3 separate regions of the Homo sapiens genome follow, and all the other regions are linked to region 3. The links are contacts of gene promoters, found by promoter capture Hi-C in blood cells and fetal thymus (Javierre and others, 2016). All regions are on one chromosome and are shown on one strand. Each heading gives the region's core, a stretch centred on a gene start or on the middle of the fragment in contact. The rest is flanking DNA. Distances are from core to core; before and after follow the strand shown. Region 1 overlaps GNAQ (G protein subunit alpha q). Region 2 overlaps GNAQ (G protein subunit alpha q). Region 3 holds the start of CEP78 (centrosomal protein 78).

Region 1 (3,355 bases), core at 87-2,586, 230 kb after region 3:
ATCCTAGTTTGAATGATGCTTGGAAAGGTTTTAGTCCTGGGATTGCAGATAATTTATTTTTTTTGGTAGTACCAATTAGGGATATGCTGAGAACAGTGGGGAAAGCAACAGTAGGTTTACTTCTTATTGCCTGATAGAGTATTTTTCTCTAAGATTTTTTGGTATGTGTGTACAAGACAGTGTTTTTGGTTGATCCTATGTCTCAGTTGAAGACAGTCCTACTGAATTGAGATCTTATGGGGCAGGGGGCAGTATACTTCTTTTTTATTGACATAATTGCAGCCAGATAGAAATAGGTAATTATATTTCTTATCACACACATAATGGATTTGTTTTATGTTGTGTTATTCTCTGAAATTAACTGACAGATTAGAACAAATTGCATGTATATTTCACATACCCAACCTGCACTAAGTCCCTCAAATTCCTATTTATGACAGTTTACCTCTGGGAATTAGCTAGGGCATTTAAATCAATAGCATTATTAGAACTCACGTTCCAGGAATCCATTTGTGACCCCGTACAGGAAAGAGTTAACATAGTAAGCCTGCGTGCAATAACTTAAGACATTTCATGTTTATTGTCACAACTGGTTGTTGGCAGCATTAAATGTGACCCCACTTGGAGAGGACCCATGGAAGCTTGTGTCTAGTTTCTTCCAGACTTCATCCCATACCCTTTTCCGTTGGCCGATTTTGCATTTTGCTTTCTTGTAATACATTGTAGCCATGATACAACTATATGCTGAGACGGGCGAGTCTTCCAGGTGAATCATTGAGCCTGGGGAGTAGTCGTGGGGATGCCTAACACATACCCATCATCAACTGCTGAAGGCCTCTACTTGGTTAAGGTGGAGTGCTCTGGGCTAGAGTATTGGCACTGCAACCTTGACCCATGCACTACTGCACCAAGTTTGTTGGGAGGATCACATGGGATGGTGTTGGTAAAAGTTCCTTGAAAACAGATCACTATCCAGATGCACACTGATGTGATTATTATTTTGCTTCTTCCGTGATATGTTTTGGTAACTACTGTGAGTAAGACATTATTATGCACACATAGAACGCTCAGTTATTTACCCTTTGGTTAGTATTGGGCCTCCTTCTTCACATGAGGCAAGGCAAACTCCCGCTTCCCCAGACAATGGGGAGCACTCTAGACACTAATTCCCCACCCTTCCTACATTTTTCACATTGCTCTCTGGTTACTTTTCTTAACCCATGTTAATTACAGTTGGGTGGGTACAGTGGCTCATGCCTATAATCCCAGCACTTTGGGAGGCCAAGGCGGGCAGATTGCTTGAGCCCAGGAGTTCAAGACCAGCCTGGGCAACATGAAGAACACCATCTCTACAAATAATACAAAAATTAGCTGGGTGTGGTGGTGCCCACCTGTGGTCCCAGCTACATGGGGTGTGGGAGGATCGCTTGAGCCCGTGAGGTGAGGGCTGCAGTGAGTCATGATTGCCCCACTGCACTCCAGCCTGGGTGATAGAGCAAGAGCCTGTCTCAGAAAAAGAGAAAAATTGTAGTTTTGTCATCTCTCCAAACCATTAATTACATTGCATTCATTGTGAAATAAAGGCCAGATATGTTTATCTGTCAGTCAAGTTTATCTGATCCCACCCCCTCTTCTAGCCTTATTCCTTACTGCTTGCCTTGAGGTATTTGACAGTTTAGCCAAATGAGGACACTAACCCTTTTCCTTCCCCTCCTCAGATATTTGTTGCTTTCCTCTCTTCTCTCCCACCCCTAGGATGCTTTTTCCTCCATCGCTCTCTGTGCAAATCCTACCGTGTTTCAAAACCCATGTTAAATGGTGCCTCTTTCTCATTGCCTTTTCTGATCCCTCTAGTGGTCAAAGTTTCTGTTGACTCCTATGACGTTTTATGTTTGTTTATGTCTGAGTTTTTTTGATATGTGCAGGAGGTATTGGTATGCAAGTGGAGAAGTGAGATAGCTAAGGGAAGGCAGCCAATAAAGGTGCATTATTAAACCACTAATGGCAATGGGCAGTTGGAGGTCAAGCTTGGGGAGAAGCTCTGGGAGATGATGTCACGCAGGACTTCTCAAACTTTCATGTTCATGAGAATCTCCTGGGGACCTTGTTAAAATGCAGGTTCAGACTCAGGTCTGGGGTGAGACCTGAGAGTCTGAATTTCTCATGAGCACCTGGTGATAATGATGCTGTTGGCATGGGTCCAGAGACCCCACTTCGGAGAATGGTGATGCTGTAAATTTGTCCCACCTGAAGAGTAAGGTAGCTGGAGCATTTAACTTAATTAATTTTTTTTTTTTTTTTTTGAGACAGAGTCTTACTCTGTCGTCCAGGCTGCAGTTCAGTGGCTCAGTCATAGCCAACTGGAGTATTTATATACCAACTTTGGATGGTCATTAGTTGGGGGCTGTCAATTCCTGCCACCTTTGGCTTCTCGGGTGGCCATCCCTACCTTGGAGAAAAGTCCTCAGGCAGCGAGGTGCAGATACCTGTAGTTGGAGGTCAGCTTTGGGTGGCTAGGGCAAATTCAGCCCCATCTTGTAATTGTGATGATTTATACACATTTGTTCCTCCATAGCAACCTGTCAGATCCCTGAAGGCAGGATATGTAATTTGTCTTGTGTTCTAATAGCATTTAGTGCATATTATGCTTTTTTGTTTGCTCAATGAGTGAGTTGATTGTTGGTACTTTCTACTTTGGCAAAGTGTTACAAGTGCAGTTTATGGTGCAGTTCGGACTCCAGCTTTTTTTTTTCTTTTTTTTTTTTTTAGACAGTCTTGCTCTAAAGCCCAGAATGGAGTGCAATGACGCTATCTAGGCTGACTGCAACCTCTGCCTCCCCGGTTCAAGTGATTCTCGTGCCTCAGCCTCCCCAGTAGCTGGGATTACAGGCGTGCATTACCACACCCAGTTTATTTTTTGTATTTTTAGTAAACAAGGGGTTTCGCCATGTTGCCCAGGCTGGTCTTGAACTCCAGGTCTCAAATGATCTGCCCGCCTCGGCCTCCCAAAATGCTGGGATTACAGGTGTGAGCCACTGTGTCCGGCCGCAGCTTGTCATTTTTAGTCTCAGTGTCTAAGATAAAGATTCTGTAACACAAAAGCCTTCTTCCTGGTTCGTCATCTCTGAAGGTATCAGTGGCCTTGTCCTCACTGGTCAGTGCTAACAGGTACAAGAGAGAAGAATACTATGGAAGACAGCAAAAATTACCCCATCAAGGACTTCTGGGTTCTGTTTATTTTTAAGATGAAGATAGAGAATACGGCTCAAGAGAAAGAATTCTGGTGAGAAACTTTGGAGATAGCTAGTGCTCTCTCATCTAATTTTCCCTCTTGAAGGCACTTTTCATTCCTTGA
Region 2 (3,627 bases), core at 968-3,467, 250 kb after region 3:
GAATGGCTGTTTCTGTTAGGCTAATAGTGTTGCTTAGAGCAACAGGATTCTGTTGGATGGGAAATCTGTATGTAAACAGCAGGTATGAGCCAGATATCTTGCAGCAGCTATGTGGCAAGGGAAAGGTGGTGGTGGCTATAATCTGCATGGCTGGAGAATAAACAAATATTGATGTGGGACTTTAAACTATGGCAATGCTAGGACATTCTAGGAAGAAGCAACAGTAGAGGTGGATTGTACTTTCTAGTTAGGGTATCTTTCTGACTGCTTCGAATATTAAGGCCGTATACAGTCAAACTGTCCAGAAAAAGGAAAAAAAAGTCTTTGTGTCAAGAAGATCAAAGTTCATTTAAATTTGAATGACAGCTGTTTTAAAAAATCATACTTAGGCCAGGTGCGGTGGCTCATGCCTGTAATCCCAGCACTTTGGGAGGCTGAAGCGGGTGGATCACCTGAGGTCAGGAGTTTGAGACCAGCCTGACCAACACAGTGAAACCCCATCTCTACTAAAAATCCAAAAAATTAGCCGGGTGTGGTGGTGCATGCCTGTAATCCCAGCTACTCAGGAGGCTGAGGCAGGAGAATCGCTTGAACCCGGGAGGCAGAGAGATTGCAGTAAGCCGAGATCATGCCACTGCACTCCAGCCTGAGCCACAGAGCGAGACTCTGTCTCAAAAAAAATAAAAATAGAAAAATTAAAAATTATACTAATCTAAAAACACATAATCAGTTACTGTGTTTTAAGCTGTGAAGCTTAACACCTTGTACTTTTATAGGGTATGTAATATTTGAATGACATACAACTATCCTCTACTTGGGGAGTAGGAATTTCTGCAACAGTGACTGCTCACAATTAATGTCTTCAGTCTCCTCCATTATATGATGTGATGTGGATCTCTGTAAAAGGAAAACCAAAACAAAACAAAACTCTACAAACTCTTTTGTTTGTTGGTTGGTTTTTCTGAGATGGAGTCTCTCTCTGTCACCCAGATTGGAGTGCAGTGGCGAGATCTCAGCTCACTGCAAGCTCCGCCTCCTGGGTTCATGCCATTCTTCTGCCTCAGCCTCCCAGCCTATAGCTGGGACTACAGGCACCTACCACCATGCCTGGCTAATTTTTTGTATTTTTAGTAGAGACGGAGTTTCACCATGTTAGCCAGGATGGTCTCGATCTCCTCACCTTGTGATCTGCCTGCCTTGGCCTCCCAAAGTGCTGGGATTACAGGTGTGAGTCACCGCGCCTGGCCCACAAACTCTTTTGAAAACCATGTAGGGGGAACTAGTGTATGTCCATGCCATAAAATTGCCATTTCCTTGCCATAGTATCAGGATCCTCAAATGGTAGTCCATTTTGATTTTGTAATTCTCTGCTTTCTCCTCTCACCTCTTAAATACCTGAATAGATGTTGGAGGATTGCTCCATTCTTCACTCGGGAGCCTGGTCCCTTTGTCAGTTATAATAAGTGAATCAGGGAGTTTCTCTCTCTGGCTCTGCTCTGTGCATTGTAAAGCAGAGTTTCTCAAAATGTGGAATGAACCCCTGCGTTAGAGCACCTGCACTGAATCCCTGGGTATACTTCTCTTAAAACTGCAGGTTTTTGGTTATATAATGTTATACCAAGGGAATTTTTTAAAAGAGAATGTTTTAAAAAGGTATTTCAAGACAATAAGGAGCTACTTGTTTGTAAGAGTTCTACAGAAACCAAAAATTATGCGAATTCATACTTTTGGGAATCTTATCTTTTCCAAGGACTTTGTTAACTATTTCATCAACTCTAAGGCAGTTAAGAATAAACACAGTTAAACAGGTACTTCAGGCTGGATGTGGTGGCTCACGCCTGTAATCCCAGCACTTTGGGAGGCCGAATTGCTTGAGTCCAGGAGTTCGAGACCAGCCTGGGCAACATGGCAAGACCCCATCTCTACAAAGAATACGAAAAATTAGCCACGTGGTGGTGCATGCCAGTAGTCTCAGCTACTCAGGAGGCTAAGGTGGGAGGATCACTTGAGCCCAGGAGGTCGAGGCTGCAGTGAGCCGAGATCATGCCACTGCACTCCAGCCTGGGTGACAGTGAGGCCCTGTCTCAAAAAAAAAAAAAGAAAAGCAAAAAAATCCCAGAAATCTACGTACTTCAACTAAAATTCAAAAACTTTCTGCTTGTGCCCTACCTGCCTAGATGACCAACTTCATCTAGGTGATTTTTTTTTTTTTTTTTTTTTTTTTTTGCTCTCCAAAATTCTACTTGCATATGCTGCAAAAACCCAGGATGACTTTTGAGGAGAGAGAGAGAGTCTTTGAATAAAAGCACAACGTGTTAGATCTTTTATTTCTGTATCCCTCAGTTCTGAGCAAAATGCCCACACAGTAGGATCTCGGTAAATCTTCCTGTCTCTTGGAGTGGACTTCCTTTAGGATACAGCAAGTTCTGACCGTGACTTCCTAGGAAAGAGTCCTCCCCACTAAAAGAGTGGAATAGAGTCAGTGGTCATTTCAGTCACTAAATTCTCCTGCTGGTGATGCCAAAGGCAAGACTAGATCTGCTAGTGATGCTGATTTTAAGTGCATAGATACTTTTCTGTGTTTCCATAAAATGCCAGAAAATGAGCTGCTCAGCCAAACCCTGTGCCACAGTAAGGGGAACCTTGAAAGAAAGAGGCAAAAGGCAACATACACCAACTATGAGGAATAAGGAATACACCAACCTTGAAAGAAAGAAGTAAAAGACACATACACCAACTATGAGGAATAAGGCAAATGGCTCTTCGAAGAGGCTCAAGGCCATACCAGTCCTCTCAGTTCCAGAGGGGAGGGGCCCAGAGGAGTCATCTCCCAGCAGGGTGAGAACCAAAAGGTTGGTGAGGTACTGAGGCTACCCATGGAGGAATTTGGGAGGGAATAAACACCTACATCCACACAAGTCCTTTAGAAGATTTTTAGCAGCAAGAGTTGGCTACTAATAGGTCAGCCCTCTTACCTAAAATGACGCAGTTGCTTTCTATGAAAGCATGATTTTGATGCTCAGCACTCCACAGATACATACTATGTAAATGTTATCACCATGCACGAGTTCATACTGTTGCATAGAACTAGCTGGCAAGTGAGAAACAAAGTGCCAGTTTCTATGTAGGCAGTGTTTCCACAGTTACTTCAGCCCTTTCTACCCCAGTACAGCAGAATTCTGGGTAGTGTAAATAATTGATGAATTCAAGCATTGGTACATTATATAGGGGCCAGTTAGAGACCCATGTAGGTATTTTCTCTGTTATGGTTCTTCTAAAAAAGTTTTTATCTTGTTAATACTGGTTTTGACTTTTTTATTTTTTTATTATTATACTTTAAGTTCTAGTGTACATGTGCACAACGTGCATTTTTGTTACATATGTATACATGTGCCATGTTGGTGTGTGCCGCACCCATTAACTCGTCATTTACATTAGGTATATCTCCCATTACTATCCCTCCCCCCTCTCCCCACTCCACGACAGGCCCTGGTGTGTGATGTTCCCCTTCCTGTGGTTTTGACTTTTTTTTTTTTTTTTTTAAACATAGAATCAACAGTTCGATACAGGTAGAGGATTCATTAATGAGAATGCATCTTTCACTACTGTGCAATGAATATTTGATGG
Region 3 (3,301 bases), core at 129-2,628:
CTAAGTGCTCAAAGGAATAACAGCATTTTGTCATATATCATAGTTGACCTAACATATTTTCCGAATAATCAGAGAGTCTGGATCCCTAATTATACCACTATACATTTACAAATGGCTTGTATTTGTAAAGCACTTTACAAACTTCTTATATACACCTTAAAAAATGAAGACAGGCCGGGCGCGGTGGCTCATGCCTGTAATCCCAGCACTTTGGAAGGCCGAAGCGGGCGGATCACCTGAGGTCAGGAGTTCGAGACCAGCCTGGCTAACATGGTGAAACCCCATCTCTACTAAAAATACAAAAATTAGCCGGGCATGGTGGCGCGCGCCTGTAATCCCAGCTACTCGGGAGGTTGAGGCAGGAGAATCACTTGAACCCGGGAGGCGGAGGTTGCAGTGAGCCGAGATCTTGCCACTGCATTCCAGCCTGGGCGACAGAGTGAAACAGTGTCTCAAAAAAAAAAAAAAAAAAAAAAAAAAAAAGACAAAGGCTGACATGTATTAATTTCCTACCTGCTTAGTTCTCTATCAGGCAAATCAAAGTCATTCAATAAAATAGGTAACATCTGTCAAATGTTTAATGATGTCCCAAACTGTGCTAAGAGCTCTGCAGGCATCAGCAGCGCAGGGAATCCTTGCGAAGGCGCACATAACCTGGGTCTCGTTATTAAGCCCATGTTACGGATGAGCACACTGAAGCCCTAGAGACCTTAAGCCACTCACCTAGCTCGTGAGTGTCCAGGCCGCACACCCCTTCTATTGCACACATACCCCGACAATGGACACCACTCACCTAAAAACCCACTTCGCCGCACCGACTGAGGGGCCCTGGAGGCGGGAACTACAAACCTGTGTCCCCCAGCCAGGGCTGGAAGAAGCTCTTGATGGAGACCAAGGGCAGGTCTTTATTGATCTTGAGGGTGCTCAGCAGAGGCGCCCAGTCCACCCCGCGGAGGCGGTCGGCGTTGAAATCCAGCACGCCCTCCCGGAGACAGGCGCGCACGGCGGGCAGCGGCACCGAGTTCTGCAGCGCGCACAGGTACTCGTAGTGGGAGAAGAAGTCCGCCGCGCTGTCGCGGCGCAGCTTCACGGAGTCGATCATGGCCCGAGGGCGGCCTCGGGGGATGCCCGCCGCGGAGACGCCGCCCGCGCCCACCCAAGAACGCTGAGTCGCAACCCGGCCGCTCCGGCACCCACGGCCAGGCGATAGCGGCAGCCCCGCACCGGGCTCAGGAGCGGTGATTCGGTCGGAAGACGCAAGGCCAGAGCCCCAAGCTAGGCCGGCCCCTCAACGCCCCACTCCCGCGCTGCCTCCCGCCCTGCGGCCCAAGCAGTTGGCGCCCGCCTCATAGTCCTCTGAGGCGCCGGGATTCAAGCCGGTGGGCGGTGCCGTGGAACGGTGCGCCAAGACGTCAACGTGCTCGCTGTGCGTCGGCACGCAGGTCCCGCCTCCTGAGGACGGGTGAGTTCGCTGCTACCTGAGATAGTGGTCGGGAGAGTTTGAGGGTTTGCGAAAGAGTTTACTGATCGATCCGAATAAAAGTGAAATGTGTGGTCGGGCGCGGTGGCCCACGCCTGTAATCCCAGCACTGTGTGAGGCGGGGGCGAGCGGATCACCTGGGGTCAGGAGTTCGAGACCAGCCTGGCCAACATGGCGAAACCCCGTCTCAATTAAAAATACAAACATTAGCCGGGCATGGTGGCGGGCGCCTGTAATCCCAGCTACTCGCCTGTAATCCCAGCTGAGGAAGGAAAATCGCTAGAACCCGGGAGGCGGAGGCTGCAGTGAGCCGAGATCTTGCCATTGCACTCCAGCCTGGGCGACAAGAGCGAAACTCCGTCTCAAAAAAAGAAAGAAAATAAAAAGTGAAATGTGGATGTAACAACGCACTTTTAAAAAAAGTCTAAACATCTGAGGAATGTGTCTGTGCTTGCAGTGTCCAGCCAGCACAGAGACTGCACTCAAGGGATGTGGGAACGGCTGATTGAACGTGAACTGCGGTCATTAAATCTTTTATGTCTGTGTTAATATCTACAAATAAGCCTTAATTTCTGTAGTTTCTGCATATCTCACACGGTTCCTGGCAAATTGAAGAGTGTTTCATGAATTCAGGACTTTATTGTGTTTGCTGTGAATCAGTTTGTTTTGTACTGACGATGATGTTGGCTAACTCCCTTGTAACTAGTACTTATTTGAAATAATGTCCTCGGGATTATTTTAAGCAATGTTTAAGTATGAAATCATTTCATTCTCCTAACATCTCAAGGAATATACTATTATATTCTACTTTACAAAAGGGGAAACTGAGGAACGGGGAAGTTAAGTGGAAGCTAAGTGGAAGAATCCAGATAATTGACCTCTCCTTCTATTGGTATGCAATTGCTAGAGCAATGATAGTCCTCCGGTAGAGCCTTAGACATTGTGTTTATTGCATTCCTGTTCCACCCACTGCATTCCGGATACTCCAACTTACTTCCAACACACATATGCAGGCGTCTCTAAAATTCCGGAGATATGGTCACCAATTATTTTTATGTGCGACATGCTCAAATCTTAATATAGTAAACGCTTGTATATTCATAAACCAGCTTAATAAATGAAACATTACCATTCCTGTTGAAGAGCTTTGTGTAACCACCTTCCCAATCACGACTACTCTCTGACTCTGAGATAACTGCTCTTCTGAACTTGGTATTCATCGTTGCAATGTATGTCTTTATATTTCTGCTACATATGTAAGTAAGCAGTATATAACATTCTATATTTTCTTTTCCTACTTTACTTATCGTTACCTTTACTAGGTCCATCCGTGTTGACATATAGAGATATTCATTTATTTTCCCTGTTGTTATATGGGAGTTCCATGTAGAAACATACAGTAATGTGTCTGTTTTTCTGTTGATGGTAATTTAAATTGTTTCCAACTTTACGATTTCTTTGTTGCTCTATCCATTTTCTTTCTAGTCTCCAGCATCAATTAATGTAGTGTCCATTACCTTTTTAAAGCTCCCTCCTCCCTGTTTCCCATGAAGCCACCTGATTTCTTTTTCTTTACCTCTCGAATTTCTTCTTCTCAGTCTCATTCTTTGGCTTCTCTTGCATATCCACTCTAAATATTGCTGTTCGTCAGGTTTCTACCCTCAGCTTTCACCCCTTCTGACATTTTACAGTTTCTCTGGGTGTTCTTGTCTTCTGCTCAGCCTTAACTTCCCCACTCTAGGCAGATTACTTCTAACACAGATAGATCTCTTCATCCATTAAATTGCCCCCTAGAAAGCCAAGATTTCTCACTGCCCTCAG

The links. Contacts are between HindIII fragments. The CHiCAGO score rates a contact against its expected background, and 5 or more counts as called.
Region 1: a contact is called between a fragment that was not itself captured here and the fragment with the promoter of CEP78 in region 3, in 1 of 17 cell types (naive CD4 T cells). The highest score is 5.2, in naive CD4 T cells.
Region 2: a fragment that was not itself captured here is called in contact with the fragment with the promoter of CEP78 in region 3 in 1 of 17 cell types (non-activated CD4 T cells); the score reaches 5.0 in non-activated CD4 T cells.

The regions. Positions count from the first base shown.
Region 1 is chr9:78,003,225-78,006,579 of GRCh38, reverse strand. The region is part of intron 1 of GNAQ (G protein subunit alpha q); the gene reads left to right. Among named protein-coding and RNA genes, the nearest start is that of GNAQ, 27 kb to the left of the region's middle. The HindIII fragment of the contact is 1,386 bases long and covers 644-2,029 here.
Region 2 is chr9:77,982,649-77,986,275 of GRCh38, reverse strand. The region is part of intron 1 of GNAQ (G protein subunit alpha q); the gene reads left to right. Among named protein-coding and RNA genes, the nearest start is that of GNAQ, 47 kb to the left of the region's middle. The HindIII fragment of the contact is 2,924 bases long and covers 756-3,627 here.
Region 3 is chr9:78,234,152-78,237,452 of GRCh38, reverse strand. CEP78 (centrosomal protein 78) reads right to left here and starts at 1,378. Exons shown (of 17, transcript NM_001330691.3): 1 at 850-1,378. The coding sequence starts at 1,102. RefSeq lists a silencer at 985-1,354 and an enhancer at 980-1,649. The HindIII fragment of the contact is 10,697 bases long and covers 1-3,301 here.